Regions from separate parts of the Homo sapiens genome. Here all the other regions are linked to region 2. Evidence: promoter capture Hi-C in 16 types of primary human blood cells and fetal thymus (Javierre and others, 2016). All regions are on one chromosome and are shown on one strand. Each heading gives the region's core, a stretch centred on a gene start or on the middle of the fragment in contact. The rest is flanking DNA. Distances are from core to core; before and after follow the strand shown. Region 1 holds the start of ZNF879 (zinc finger protein 879). Region 2 holds the start of ZNF454 (zinc finger protein 454). Region 3 holds the start of ZNF354B (zinc finger protein 354B).

Evidence for each region. Contacts are between HindIII fragments. The CHiCAGO score rates a contact against its expected background, and 5 or more counts as called.
Region 1: a contact is called between the fragment with the promoter of ZNF879 here and the fragment with the promoter of ZNF454 in region 2, in 5 of 17 cell types (erythroblasts, neutrophils, monocytes and 2 more). The highest score is 9.1, in erythroblasts.
Region 3: a contact is called between the fragment with the promoter of ZNF354B here and the fragment with the promoter of ZNF454 in region 2, in 2 of 17 cell types (neutrophils and erythroblasts). The highest score is 6.2, in neutrophils.

Annotation. Positions count from the first base shown.
Region 1 is chr5:179,020,275-179,025,061 of GRCh38, reverse strand. ZNF879 (zinc finger protein 879) reads right to left here and starts at 1,258. Exons shown (of 5, transcript NM_001136116.3): 1 at 1,158-1,258; 2 at 25-92. The coding sequence starts at 57. RefSeq lists an enhancer at 1,129-1,630. The HindIII fragment of the contact is 13,349 bases long and covers 1-4,787 here.
Region 2 is chr5:178,938,238-178,942,790 of GRCh38, reverse strand. It overlaps ZNF454 (zinc finger protein 454), which reads right to left and starts at 1,593. Exons shown (of 5, transcript NM_001178089.3): 1 at 1,347-1,593; 2 at 1-106. It overlaps ZNF454-DT (ZNF454 divergent transcript), which reads left to right and starts at 1,776. Exons shown (of 1, transcript NR_186409.1): 1 at 1,776-4,115. The HindIII fragment of the contact is 10,957 bases long and covers 1-4,553 here.
Region 3 is chr5:178,856,723-178,861,340 of GRCh38, reverse strand. ZNF354B (zinc finger protein 354B) reads right to left here and starts at 1,388. Exons shown (of 5, transcript NM_058230.3): 1 at 1,214-1,388; 2 at 261-344. The coding sequence starts at 293. RefSeq lists silencers at 822-901, 982-1,181 and enhancers at 1,322-1,521, 806-1,538. The HindIII fragment of the contact is 7,869 bases long and covers 1-4,618 here.

The DNA of each region.
Region 1 (4,787 bases), core at 9-2,508, 83 kb before region 2:
AAGCAAAAAGAAGCCTTCACTCACCTGTACATGGGCTGGCAGCAACCTCCTTGCCATTTCTCCCTCCCTGCTGCCTCTCTTGGAGAAGGCACCTGGAATGGAGAAAAAAGCTGTGAGGTCTTTTCATCCAGCCTGCATGCCCACCCTCATTAGGCCAGACCAGGTTAGAAGCCATAAGCTGAGCACCTGCAGAGAAGGAGCCTGGAACTGCCCAGGCCAGAGGGGCCCTAAGTCCGGCCACTTAAACCAGTGTGGGAAGCAGGTTCAGAGTCACCGGGCCTGCTACCTTTCTGCCAGTGCTTTACGATAAAGACGAAAGGAGCGAAGGGATGAAGACCATCTGCCGTGCCTTAACAGGGTCAAGGGCAGAATCAGGCAAGGCTCATTCAGATAAAGTAATAGGAAATGACACAATATTCCACACATCTGCACTTGGATGTTGTTCAATACGAAAAACAGCAGTTGAAGAACTGATGCTCTTTTTTAGGAACAGCCAACCAAAAATTAGTCCTCTTTTCTTCCTCTTGTAAGATTTACTTCCTTTATCAAAAACAGTTATCAAAGCTGCTTAAAGGTAGCGTTACCCATTCTCCCTGGCCCCAAAAAAACAAGGGCGCAAGAAAACAGCATCACTAGCTAGAAATTGATTTAAAATTTAGAGAAATGGGAAGAAACGTAGCAAGTGGACATGGTTACGGTAAATAAAAAAAGAAATAGTTAAATCACTCTAGGACTGGCTGTAGGAAAACACTGCCAAACGTGCAAGACTGCCAAAAACGAGTAAATCTAAAGTTTAAACTCCGGGAAACGGAGTAGGGGGAGGCTTAAACCCACAAACACTAAGAGCGAAAAACCGCCCGGAGGGCTCCGGACCCTGAACCGAGGCGGCATTTTGCAGTTTCTGTTCTGGAGCCGTTTCCCCCGGAGTCCGGCCCAGGCTGCGGCCCAGGAGTCCAGCGGCGTCGAAGCGCCCTCCCGGCCTCCGCCAGGCCCTTCCCAGGCCACGCCCCCTCCGGGGCCGGGTTCACCTGCCGAGGCCGCCCCGGCTCGGACGCCCGGAGCCGGGGACTCGGCAGACACGCGCAGAGGCCAGCCCTCGTCCTGGTCCCGCCGCGGCAGCCGCACGCCCCGGGCCCGCCCTCACCGGCAGCCTGTACCTGGGCCCGCCTCGGCGGGGGGCGCGCAGCTCCACACCGCACAAGAGGCGAGCGGAACACCTAATTCAGAGACGTTTCCCGTCGCTGCCGGGCGCAACTGCGCCTGCGCGCCGGAGAGCCGACGGGTTTCCCTGGCTGAACCGCAGCGTTTGTCCCTCCGGACTTCATTTCCCAGACGTCGCTGCGGCACCACCACTTACGGTGTCCGAGAGAGAACCACAGCGCCGAGAGCGGAGAACGCGGTCGGGCTGTGGAGTTCGAGAAGGCTGAAGCCGAGTCCCTCAGCTTGGGCTCCAACTACTCTCCCTCCGCTAAACCACCCATTGTATTCGTAATTAGAATGACAAAAATAGTAAGACGGAAAAGTGAGTATGAATTTTTAAATCTGGAAGACTAGCCGCTGCTGATTATTCGCAGGTGGTGACAGAACTATTACAGTCCATTCTGCGATTTTAATTAAAAATGAATTATGTCTAAATTTTATAATCTCGGCCGGGCGCGGTGGCTTATGCCTGTAATCGCAGCACTTTGGGAGGCCGAGGTGGGCGGATCACAAGGTCAGGAGACCGAGACCATCTTGGCCAACATGGTGCAACCCTGTCTCTACGAAAACACGAAAAATTAGTCGGGCGTGGTGGCACATGCCTGTAATCCCAGCTATTCGGGAGGCTGAGGCAGGAGAATCGCTTGAACCTGGGAGGCGAAGGTTGCGGTGAGCTCAGATCGCGCCATTGCACTCCAGCCTGGGTGACAGAGCAAGACTCTGTCTCAAATAAATAAATAAATAAATAAATAAATTTTTGTAATCTTTACATATTTACTGGCACTCAGAGTAAAACAAAAGCATAAGCCTAGTATTTCCCTCTTCATGGCACTCACTTCTTTTGAAGTGACTTCTTTAAAACGTAAAATAAAGCCCAACTCCCAGCGCTATCATCACAACTGCATCCTCGGTGACCGGCACTGTACACGCCAAATACTATGTGCTCAGAAAGTGTTGATTTTTAAAATATCAAACATTAGCGTTTACAGAGACAAACCTAAACACAAAGGGTACTTGAAGATAGAAAATGCAGAGAGGGACTAAGAGATATCAGGTAGATAATATGAAAAAGAAATCTTGGATCACGATGTTACAACAATACAAAGATTATTGCAATGTAAAAATAATTAAATCGAACAAAATGGATGTTTTATATTGTTAAAAGATAATAATGCACATCACTAATCATTAGGGGAATGCAGATCAAAGCAGATCAAACATCCACTGCGATTTCACACTCATTAGGTTGGCTATTATAAAATTTGGAAAAAAAAGAAAACCAGAAAACAATCCTTGTGCCTTAATGGTGGGAATGTAAAATGGTAGCGCTGCGCTGGAAAACGGTATGGCAGTTCCTCAAAAAAAAATTAAATGTAGAATTAACACATGGGCAATTCCATTTCTGGACCATATGTTATTTCTATATTTAATTATTATTTTAAAATAATAATAATAAAGATATGACAGTTATAGACCATTATTGACAAAACAACATAGCATTGAGATTTACAAAGTAAAAGGTGCCAGACTGAGTACCCATGATTACCTCCCTTTTTCTCTTCATATTCTTCAAAGTAACCCCAAACACATATAATTTTCAAAGGAGCAAATCTAATGCAACTCTAGAAAAATACCATCAGAACACCAGAAATTGAGGAAACATTTGGAAGACATGCAGGAGACAAGTGCTCTGATACCCAAAATCTAATAAAAAGATTCAGAAGAAAGCAGAGAAAATGGGGAGGGGGAATAATAACAGATTGATTACATACAGAAATAGTGATAGAGATATAGCAGAAAACACATTCAAGCTGAGGAAGCCCTGAGTCTTCAGAGTAAATAAAATGTAGGGAGTTTGGCATAATGAATGAGCTAGGGTAGGGATGGCCCATAAAAAATACATCCTCGATGAAATATCACAACTCTGAGGATAAATAGGAACCCCTAAAAGTGGCCAGAAAAGACGGAATAAAAGGTTGGCATGTGTTATTTGCTACAAGTCACAGAAGATGGAACTGCTCAAGTTGGCTGAAATGAATAAGGAATAGCAAGAAATCACTGGGGCAGACTCCGGCTAGAGAAGAATCGGTGGTTCTATGATGTCAGCAAAAACCAGGTTTTGGCCGGGGGTGGTGGCTCAAGCCTGTAATCCCAGCTATTTGGGAGGCTGAGGCAGGGCAGTTGCTTGAACCCGGGAGGCGGAGGTTGCAGTGAGCTGAGATCGCGCCACTGCACTCCAGCCTGGGGGACAGAGCGACACTCTCAGAAAAAAACAAACAAACACGTTTCTTCCTTTTCTCCACCCTGATCCTCAGGAGCTGGATGTGATGTGGATATGTAAACAAAATCTAGGTTCTGTTGAGAATTAGGAAGGCGAGAGGATATTAGGTAACCAAGAAAGTCCACTACTCTAGACGAACCAAAGAAAGTGCAGCTGACATCAGGCTTCTCAGCAACACGGGTTCTAGAAGATGGTGTGGAGCAATGTCCTCAGATTTCAAACAGAAAATGATTTGGAATTTAAATAGAGTACTATAGATTCTGTAGAATACTATAACCTTCCAATCTTGCATTGGATTGTGAGTGAAGCAAAGGCATTTGGAGGATGAATGTATTTACATAGATTCCAATTCATAGAGTATCTCTGCTAGAATTAGTAATGAATGTAACTCATTTAAAAAAAGAAGAATCCCGCCGGGCGCAGTGGCTCACACCTGTAGTCCCAACACTTTCAGAGGCCAAAGTGGGCAGATGGCTTGAGCTCGGGAGCGCGAGACCAGTCTGGGCAACGTAGTGAAACTCCATGTCTCCCCACCCCCCTCCAAAAAAAAAAAAACCACAAAAACAAAATTAGCCGGGCATCGTGGCGCACGCCTATGGTCCCAGCTACTAGGGGTTGGGGTGGGGTGCTGAGGTGGGTGAATCACTTGAGCCAGGGAGGCAGAGATAGCAGTGAGCCGAAATTTCACGACTGCACTCCAGCCTGGGCCACACAGGGAGACCTGTCCCCCCCCCCCCAAAAAAAAAAGGCCGGGTGCGGTGGCTCACGCCTGTAATACCAGCAGTTTGGGAGGCCGAGGTGGGCAGATCTCGAGGTCAGGAGATCGAGACCATCCTGGCTAACACAGTGAAACCCCATCTCTACTAACAATATAAAAAATTAGCCGAGCGCGGTGGCTCACGCCTGTAACACCAACACTTTGGGAGGCCGAGGCGGGCAGATCACGAGGTCAGGAGATCGAGACCATCCTGGCTAACACGGTGAAACCCCGTCTCTACTAAAAATACAAACAAATGAGCCGGGCGTGGTGGCGGGCGCCTGTAGTCCCAGCTACTTGGGAGGCTGAGGCAGGAGAATGGCGTGAACCCCGGGGGGCGGAGCCTGCAGTGAGCCCAGATCGCACCACTGCACTCCAGCCTGGGCGACAGCGAGACTCCGTCTCAAAAAAAAAAAAAAAAAAGAAAAGAAAAAAGAAGAATCGAAGAAAGTAAAACTTGCATGGATTACAAGATACTGTAGTAAGTAAATCAACAAGTAAAATGTATCTGAGTCAAAATGATTCTTAAGGCATTTTGAAGGTAATTTA
Region 2 (4,553 bases), core at 344-2,843:
CTTTCTTCTCCGATGAGCCCTCTTAGGGACAGGCAAAGTGCTATGGAGGCAGGTGTGGAGCTTCACACCTGCAGGACTCCTCAGGCTAGAAGGGTCCACACACCTGCTATTAGGAGAGAACTGGGTCAAAAGCTCTCATACAGCAGTCCAGAGCGAGGCAGTGAGCATTCACATCCTGGGAGGCCTCCAGTACCCCAAGCAGTGAGTGTTTTGGTTCCTGTTTGCTCCCCATTCTCTCTCCTCCTTCTGAGGGTACTATACATTGACTTTTCCCTGCAGAAAGCCTGCTCCAGGTCCAGTTCTCATGCCTTCCACCCACCCTCTGGTCTTTCCCTTCAGCCTCACTGAGCGATCTCAAGAGAATTCTTTTTTTGTTTGTTTGTTTGAGACAGAGTCTCGCTCTGTCACCTAGGCTGGAGTGCAGTGGCACGATCTTGGCTCACTGCAACCTCCGCCTTCCGGGTTCAAGCGATTCTCCCGCCCCAGTCTCCGGAGTAGCTGGGATTACACGCACCCGCCACCACGCCCGGCTAATTTTTTATATTTTTAGTAGAGACCGGGATTTCACCATGTTGGTCGGACTGGTCTCGAACTCCGGACCTCAGGTGATCGGCTCGCCTCGGCCTCCCAAAGTACTGGGATTACAGGCGTGAGCCGCCGCACTCGGCCGAGAATTATCTCTTTAACAAGTTATTCAGCTCCAGAACCCACCAGGATGTACCCGAAAAGGTGGGAGCGCTGGGGAGAGGCAACGGAGGGCAGTGTCTGGGTTCGACTGGATTGGAAGACCGCTCCGCTCTCCCTCTGCGGCTTTGGAACAGCTGCCTTATCTGGCAGTGACAGGAGAAGAGGAAAAGGAGGGTGGTCTTCTTCCTCCTCAGAAAGGAGGCTAAGAAGGCTCTTCACTGTCGAAGCCTCTCAGGCAAACCCTTCTCTGGCCTCAGTGTTCTCACTCTCTGGGGCCCAGTCTGGGTGGCCTGGAGTCACGGGTGGGCAGAAGCGGCGTTTGTGTGAGCTGGGCGGGAGGGGAGAGGGAAGGGTTAGGAACCCTAATCACACACAGCCCCGTCCCGCCCCTGCCGCTTCGCCAGGTCCCTCGGGGGCTGTGGCAGGGGCTGCGCAGCGGCTGCCTCCGGCCTTGGCGAGTTCCTGGCGCAGGACTCGGAACCACGCCAGGCGTGTATCTATCACCTGAGAGGAAACCCTGGGCTTCTCGGAGTCCGCTCCAAGACACATGCCAGAGGCCCTGGCTCCATCTCCTCCACAGGCACTCACAGACTCGACCCTCAGCCCAGGATGACCACCCCTGGCCGTCCTCCCTCTCTGGGATCAAATCTCAGACATACATTCCGGGAAGTTTGGGGCATTCGATCAGCGTCCTCCAGAATGGACCACAACCCGCACCTCCTCGGCTTTGCCTCCGCCCTTCTCCCCAGACGACCTCACGACCGCTCCCGCTCTCCCTCTGCGGCTTTGACCACCGTGCCTGGTCAGCCCCGTGTCGCTCTTCGAGGAGCCTCTGCCGGCGGCGAGAGATCGCAAGCGCCACATCGCAGTCAGAACACAATGAGCTGGAGTCTGCAGCCGGGAGCCGAACTGCGCTTGCGCGTTGCCCTGGGAACCCTTGGGCCGAATTCCCACAAGTCTCAGGGCTGCTGCAGTTCCGCCGGCCAGACTCCACTTCCCAGAGGGACAATCGGCGGAGACAGTGCTGCCTTGCGCCTGCGGGAACAGGGCCCGGCCCCGGCGCTTTAGGCGCGGAAACTACCTTTCCCAGAGACCCCTCCACGCCGACCTCAGCGCGCTCATTGCAACTTACAGAATCGGTTCCGTTCCGTTCGCTTTAGAACCAGGTCTCTGCCTTGCACTAAGGCGCAGGAAGATGCAGATCAGCGAAAAGCTGAAGATGGGGCAAGGGAGGTTAGTCCAGGGGAGCGACGCCCGATCGCTGACGAGAGAGGATCGGGAGGGTCCGGAAGACGGAGTGGGAGGCGACAGGGCGCGTTCCTGACTGGGACCGCGCCGAAAAGGCCTGGAAGGCAACAGAATTGCCCCTTGGCCTGGCAAGCGCCCGACACTTCCAGCCTGGCACTGCGGGCGGGCCAGCGTGTGCTGGGGTGGCGACGCCACAGCCACTAACGCGTGTGCGGTGCGGGAGGACAAGGATGTCGGGCAGGGATGTCCTGCTTGGCACCTCAGGACAGAGCCCATGGTGGCTGGCGGCCCCTGGAATGTTCGGGACGCAGAACACTTCGTGCTTGGGAACTTCTCAGAGGTGGGGACGAGGGAGAGGAAGGCGCCTGGATGCCAGGAAGTCTCCATCTTGGACAGCTGGGTGGTATTTAAGAAGGTGGTATTTATTTTTGTCGACCATATTTTGCAGAGACTGGCAAGGATGAGATGATGCCTAAGAATATCCAACTGGAGATACTTAGTTGCTTTTGAATAGGTAATTTGCATGGAGCTCAGGAAGGAAAGATGAGAGGGTTTTAACTTTGTTGGTCGTTAAAAAAAATCAAGAATGTGACCTGTTTGTCACATACGGAATTGTTGGCCACGTTTTAGGAAGCAGTGTCAGTGACTACAGCATTCTGTTTGGAGTTTTATTGAAGATTTCATTCCATAGACACTTTGGAGCACTTATGTGTCAAGTGCTTGACAAGGCCAGGGTCAGCCGCTGTGCAGCCCCTGTAGCAGTTCCCAGGGACCCGGCAAAGCACCAGAGGGGGAGGATGTTGTGTGAGTATCGCTGGTAACCCTTCTCTCTCGCCTCCCTCGTGACTCCAGGTCACTCAAACTGGGCTCCAGAGAGTAAGAACCCCGAGTCCAGGGGCTGGAGAAATAGCTGTGAAAACCCTGCACTCATGGAGTTTTAATTGTACTAGAGGAGGGGTCAGACAAGTAGAAAGTATTTATCTGGTAGTGATAACACTACTGTTAGGGGTTAGGGTGTGATGGGGCGGGGAATTATTTCAAGCAGCAGTTTTGGAAGTTCTCTTTGAGGAGGTAACACCTGAGCAGAGATTTGAATACAGTGAGGGAAGAAACGATGTGACTGTATGGGTAAAGTGCCTTCTAAAGGGAGGGAACAGAAATGCTGACCAGAGAGAAGTGTGCTTGGTGAACTCCAGGCTTGGCAAGGTCAGTATGACTGGCGAGGGCCTACTGAACAAGGAAGACTGCGAGATGCTGTTGCAGGAGTAACTACAGGCCTTGAAGGAAGGAAATTTGGATTTATTTCTGTGCCTGGAAATGATTAGATTTGAAAGAGTGACATGGCTGGGCACGTTTTGATAGACGCACTGGTCAGCTTCAAAGAAGGCAGACAGTGGTGGGGCTAGAGGGGATACAGGAAGACCAATGAGGAGGCAATGACAGCAGTCCACAATTACAAGTAGCCTCCCACAATTATATAACCTTTCCACAAGGCATTTGCTTTGAGAGCCTAATGATTCTAAGATATTGAAGGGTTTTGGGTGCTATGCTCAGGAGTTTGGATATTATTGTTTTCAGGAATTTAAGAATGATAATATGTATTGAGCACTAACTACATGTTGGGAGTTTTTTTGTTTGAGACACAGTTTCACTTTTGTTGCCCGGGCTGGGGTGCAATGGCATGACCTCGGCTTACCGCAAGCTCCGCCTCCCGGGTTCAAGCAATTCTCCTGCCTCAGCCTCCCCTGTAGCTGGGACTACATGCATGCGCCATCACGCCTGGATAATTTTGTACTTTTAGTAGAGATGGGGTTTCCCCAGGTTGGTCAGGCTGAACTCCTGACTTCAGGTGATCCGCCCGCATCGGCCCCCTAAAGTGCTGGGATTACAGGCATGAGCCACTGCGCCTGGCCATGTTGGGCACTTTTACAAGCACTTTACATTATCTAATGCAACCAAAAACTGAGGTTTGCCCTATTAATAAATGAGAAAACTGAGGCACTCATCTGTTAAGTGCCTTGCTCAGGTCCCATGTCCTTGGAACCAGGAGTCCTTCTCCTGTTGATGTTGGAAGGTTCAAAAGTGCTCTTATTACTTGTCACCCAGATGGCAAAGAACTGACATACAAAGGCCCAAGTCTTCCAGAACTGAAAACAGTAATAAAACCTTCATTTATCTGACCCATTTGTCCTGGTGATGCTGTAGTCTGTTAGGAGTACCTAACAGGTGCCCTTCCACAGCCAACTAAAAAACAAAACTATTCAAGCTGAAGAGAAGCAGTGAAACCTCTGATATGAAGCCTGACACACCCTTTGACTTTAGCCAGGACTCACACACTATATTGTTCTGAGTATTCACTGAGGAAGCCCCCGCTTCTGTCAAGGATTCTCATCAGGAACCAGTCTCCTCGGAGAAAGGAGGTTAAAACGTGGTCTGGAGAACCCCTTTCCCTTCTGCTCTATTAACTATGGATATGCAAATGAACACTTACATTTGACCAAGACCTCCATCACCAGTCTGCTTACGCTTCCCCAGGACAGTGGCTACGTGCCAGTAATTCCTGGTGTCCATTTGCTGAGCCCTGTTGGGACCCTTGAAGCGTGATATAATAAGGTCTT
Region 3 (4,618 bases), core at 139-2,638, 81 kb after region 2:
ACAGACTTGTGGTATCTTACTTGTCAAACTAGTCACACAATGGATGAAGATTCGTGAACAAACTGTTAATTAAAAACCACTAGACACGGGTGGGGAGGGTGGGTGGTCCTCCCTACAGAATCCACCAGTCATGAGGGCGGACCAGCTCCTCCAAGAGAAAAGGACTTGGGCTCCATCCTGGCTGGAGATGGTCCCGGGTGAAGAACTCCAGTTAGTGGGGAAAATCCATCCACTGGGATCTGGGAGGGCAATGAGCTCACCTGGGGCCTCGCTTCCCGCTGCCCAGCAGCCATGTCCTCTTTCTGGCTCTCCCGGGAGGACGGCGCAGTCTCCAGAAGGCAGATCTGAGAAGAAAAAGGGAGCCAGGAAGAACCCCTTCTGCTTTCCAGCCCTGGAATCCGCAGCTCTAAAACCCCGACTCCCGCTGAGAAGGACCCCGCGCGCCCTCACAGGGATTCGGGAGGAGCCAGGAGCCCGCGGACCAGAGCAGCGCTGGGCCGCCCGGCCAGGCCCAGGCCCCACAGGCTTGGGGCTTACGGAGGGGACGCTGGACCCGCAGTGGCAGCAGCGACCCGCTGAGCCCACCAGGGCCAGGGCTCGCCCCACGCCGCTGAGTTCCTCGGCGCCAGCTGGCACTGCCAGCACCCACTGCACCGCTCAGGAAACTGAGGCAGCGCCGGGGCACCTGCCCCGTTCACGCCGCTGCGAGGCGGGCCGGGACTCCCACCACGACGGCCCCGGGACGACTTCCCTCCGCCTCAAGCCTTTCCCAGCCGGTTCCTCTCTCTCCCGCCAACGAATCGTCTCCCGACTCCACGGAAAACGGCTTTGAAGAGGAAAGCGCTGGGTGTCCCGAGGCAGGAGGAGTGGCCGTCCTGGGGACTGACTCAGAAACCGGGCCCGGCTGCCTCTGCCCTGCGCTCGGGGTCCCGGCGCCCCGAGTCCGCGAGGCCCACACGGCGCGCGCAGGGTGGGCCCGGGAGGAAACGCCTGGCCCCGCGTTCACGGCGGGCGGCGCGAGCCAGAGGCAGGGGCGTCGGCAGCGGCACCGGAGCGGCCCGTGAGGGGCGAGAGTCCAAGTCCTGGCGCGGGGGCCGGTGACAGACGCGGGGGTGCCCCCCCGCGCCCACAGAGGCCCTCGGAGCCCCGCGGCCTCAGGTCGCCCTGGCGCCAGGCGCCGCCTCCTCCCGGCACAGCCAGCCATGCCGCTCACCTCCCCAGGATCCCGCGTTCCCGGGCCGCGCCTCCCCGCCGCACTCTGCAAGCAGGAAGCTCCAGCCTCGTGACCCGGCTCCTCCGACGTCTGGGCGACCTCAAGCCCGGCGCCGCTCACCGGGCAGCGAAAGCTCCGCAGAGCGCCTGGGACCTAGAGGAGCAAGGCGGCCGCTAAGGCCTCTAGGAAATGGAGTCCACGGGAGGACGCTGGCTTTCTGGGAAGTGTAGTTCCACGCGTTTGAGGCGAGGTCGCAGCTGAGCTGTTAGGCGCCCAGACCTATGAGAGGGCCCGGGTGAGCTGTAGAGCCCCGGGTTCCTGGTTCTTCGGAAGAGAAGGGGAGGTTCCCGGAGGGCAGTAACTTGCAACTCTGTGTGTGAATTTCAGGATGGCGTGGGCGGCACGAAAACAACTACTACACAATTGGGAAAGGAAAATCCCCTGCAAAAGATGTTGACAAAGCTGGATTTCCACGTGCAAAAGATGAGCCTGTACCCTGACCGTACACCATACATAAAAATTAACTCAAAATTGATTAAAAACCTAAATGTGAGACCAAATTATTTTATAAATTACTAAAGTAAAAAGGGAAAAAACTTCAGGATGTTGGAGATGGCAATGATTTCTTGAATATGACATCAGAAGCACAGATAACAGCAAAAATAGACAAATGGGACTACATCAAACTTAAAAACTTTGGCTAATCAAAGGAAACAAAGGCAATCTACAGAATAGACGAAAATGCTTACATATCATATATCTGATTTGCAATGTATCCTGGATTTATATGGAACTTTTACAACTCAACAACAATAACAAAACCAAATAACCTGATTTTAAAATGGACAAAGGACTTGAATAGGCAATTCTCCAATGAAGATATACAAATGAGCAATGAGCAACAAGCATATAAAAAGATGGTAAACATCTCTAGGTATAAGAGAAATATAAACCCAAACTCAATGAGAAATCACTGCACCTCCATTAGGATGGCCACTATCAAAAGGATGTAAATTGGTACAATCATTACAGAAAACGGTATAGAGGTTCCTCAAAAAATTATAACTAGAGCTACATTAGGATCCACCAATCCCATTTCTGGCTATAGATCCAGAGGAAGTGAAACTCCGTGAGATACCTGCACTCCCATGTTAGCTGCAACATTATTCACCATGGCCAAGATATGGAAACAACTATCTGTTGATGGATGAATAGATAAAGGAAATGTTTTGTTTGTTTGTTTGTTTGGGACGGTGTCTTGCTCTGTCACCCAGGCTGGAGTGCAATGGCGCAATCTTGGCTCACTGCCACCTCCGCCTTCCAGGTTCAAGCAGTTCTCTGCCTCAGTCTCCCAAGTAGCAGGGATTACAGGCACCCGCGACCACGCCCAGCTAATTTTTGTAGTTTTAATAGAGATGGGGTTTCACCATCTTCACCAGGCTGGTCTTGAACTTCTGACCTCGTGATCCACCCTCCTCGGCCTCCCAAAGTGCTCGGATTACAGGCGTGAGCCACCGAGCCCGGCCACAATGTGTTTATATACACAAAGGAATATTATTCTGCCTTAAAAAAATAAAGAAATCCTGACATATGTGACAATATGGATGAACCCGGAGGACATTATGTTAAGTGAAATAAAGAAGGCACAGAAATACAAATACTGCATTATTTCATTTACACGTAGAATCTAAAATAGTCAAAATCATAGAAGAAAGTAGCATGGTGATTTCCCTGTGTGTTAATTACCAATCTTCCCATATAGGTAATTCCATATGGCACAACTGTCCCTTACTTGTAGAGCCACGCCCACCCTGTTGCCATGAACTGCAGGTGTCCTTCCATGGTTGCTTGCCCAGTGCAAGGCCCTGTTATCTCTCTCTACACTACTCTACACTTCCACAAGCTGCTGCTTCTGTTTTTTTTTGTTGTTGTTGTTGTTGTTTGTTTTTGTTTTTGAGAGACGGGGTCTCACTATGTTGCCCAGGCTGGTCTCAAACGCCTAGGCTCAAGTGATCCTCCCGCCTCGGCCTCCCAAAGTGCTGGGATTACAGGCGTGAGCCACTATGCCTGGTGTAAAAAAGATTTTTTAACAAAAATGAGATGTTTTATTGTCTTCTCTTTGCAATTAGAGTGAAAGCCAGAATCCTTGTTGTGGGCCCTAAACCATATGGCTTTTGACTCCTTTTCCAGTATCTACTGTTTTTCTTCTACACTCTGCTTCTCAGCACAAAGCCGAATGTGTTGCTGTCTTCCATAAAAATCCTTCCTCCAGTCGGGTGTGGTGGCTCACACCTGTAATCCCAGCACTTTGAGAAGCTGAGGCAAGTGCATCACTTGAGGCCAGGGGTTTGAGACCAGCCTGGCCAACATGGTGAAACCCCGTCTCTACTAAAAATACAAAAACTAGCCAGGCGTGGTGGGGCACGCCTGTAATCCCAGCTACTCAGGAGACTGAGGCAGGAGACTCTCTTGAACCCAGGAGGGCAGAGGTTTCAGTGAGCTGAGATTGTACCACTGCATTCCAGCCTGGGCAACAGAGCGAGACTCTGTCTCAAATAAATAAATAAACAAATCCTTTCTCAGCTGGGCACAGTGGCTCATGCCTGTAATCCCAGCACTTTGGGAGGCCCAAGTGGGTGGATGACCTGAGGTCAGACCAGGCTGACCAACATAGTGAAACCCCATCTCTACTAAAAATACAAAATTATCCAGGCGTGGTGGCACATGCCTATAATCCCAGCACTTTGGGAGGCTGAGGTGGGACAACTGCTTGAGCCCAGGAGTTTGAGACCAGCTTGGGCAGCATAGTGAGATCCTGTCTCTACAAAAAAAAAAAAATTATGAAAATTAGCTGGGCATGATGGCACACTCCTGTGGTCCCAGCTACTTGGGAGGCTGAGACAGGAGGGTTGCTTGAGCCCGGGAGGAGGAGATTGCAGTGAGCTGAGATTGTGCCACTGCACTCCAGCCGCCTGGGCAATAAAGCAAGACCAGATCTGTCTCATATAAATACATACATACATACATACATATATATATACACCCCAACCCTCAAAAGCCAACAGCCAACAATGATGTAAAAAATTAAAAACTCAACCGGGCACAGTGGCTCACGCCGGTAATCCCAGCATTTTGGGAGGGTGAGGCGGGCAGATTACTTGAGGTCAGGAGTTCGAGACCAGCCTGACCAATATGGAGAAAACCCGTCTCTACTAAAAATATAAAATTAGCCGGGCATGGTGGCACACGCCTGTAGCCGAACTACCCGGGAGGCTGAGGTGGGAGGATCGCCTGAGCCCAGGAGGTTGAGGCTGCAGTGAGCCATGATCGTGCCATTGCACTTTAGACTAGGCAGCAGAGTGAGACCCTGTCTCAAAAAGAAAAAACAAAAAACCAAATTTGTAC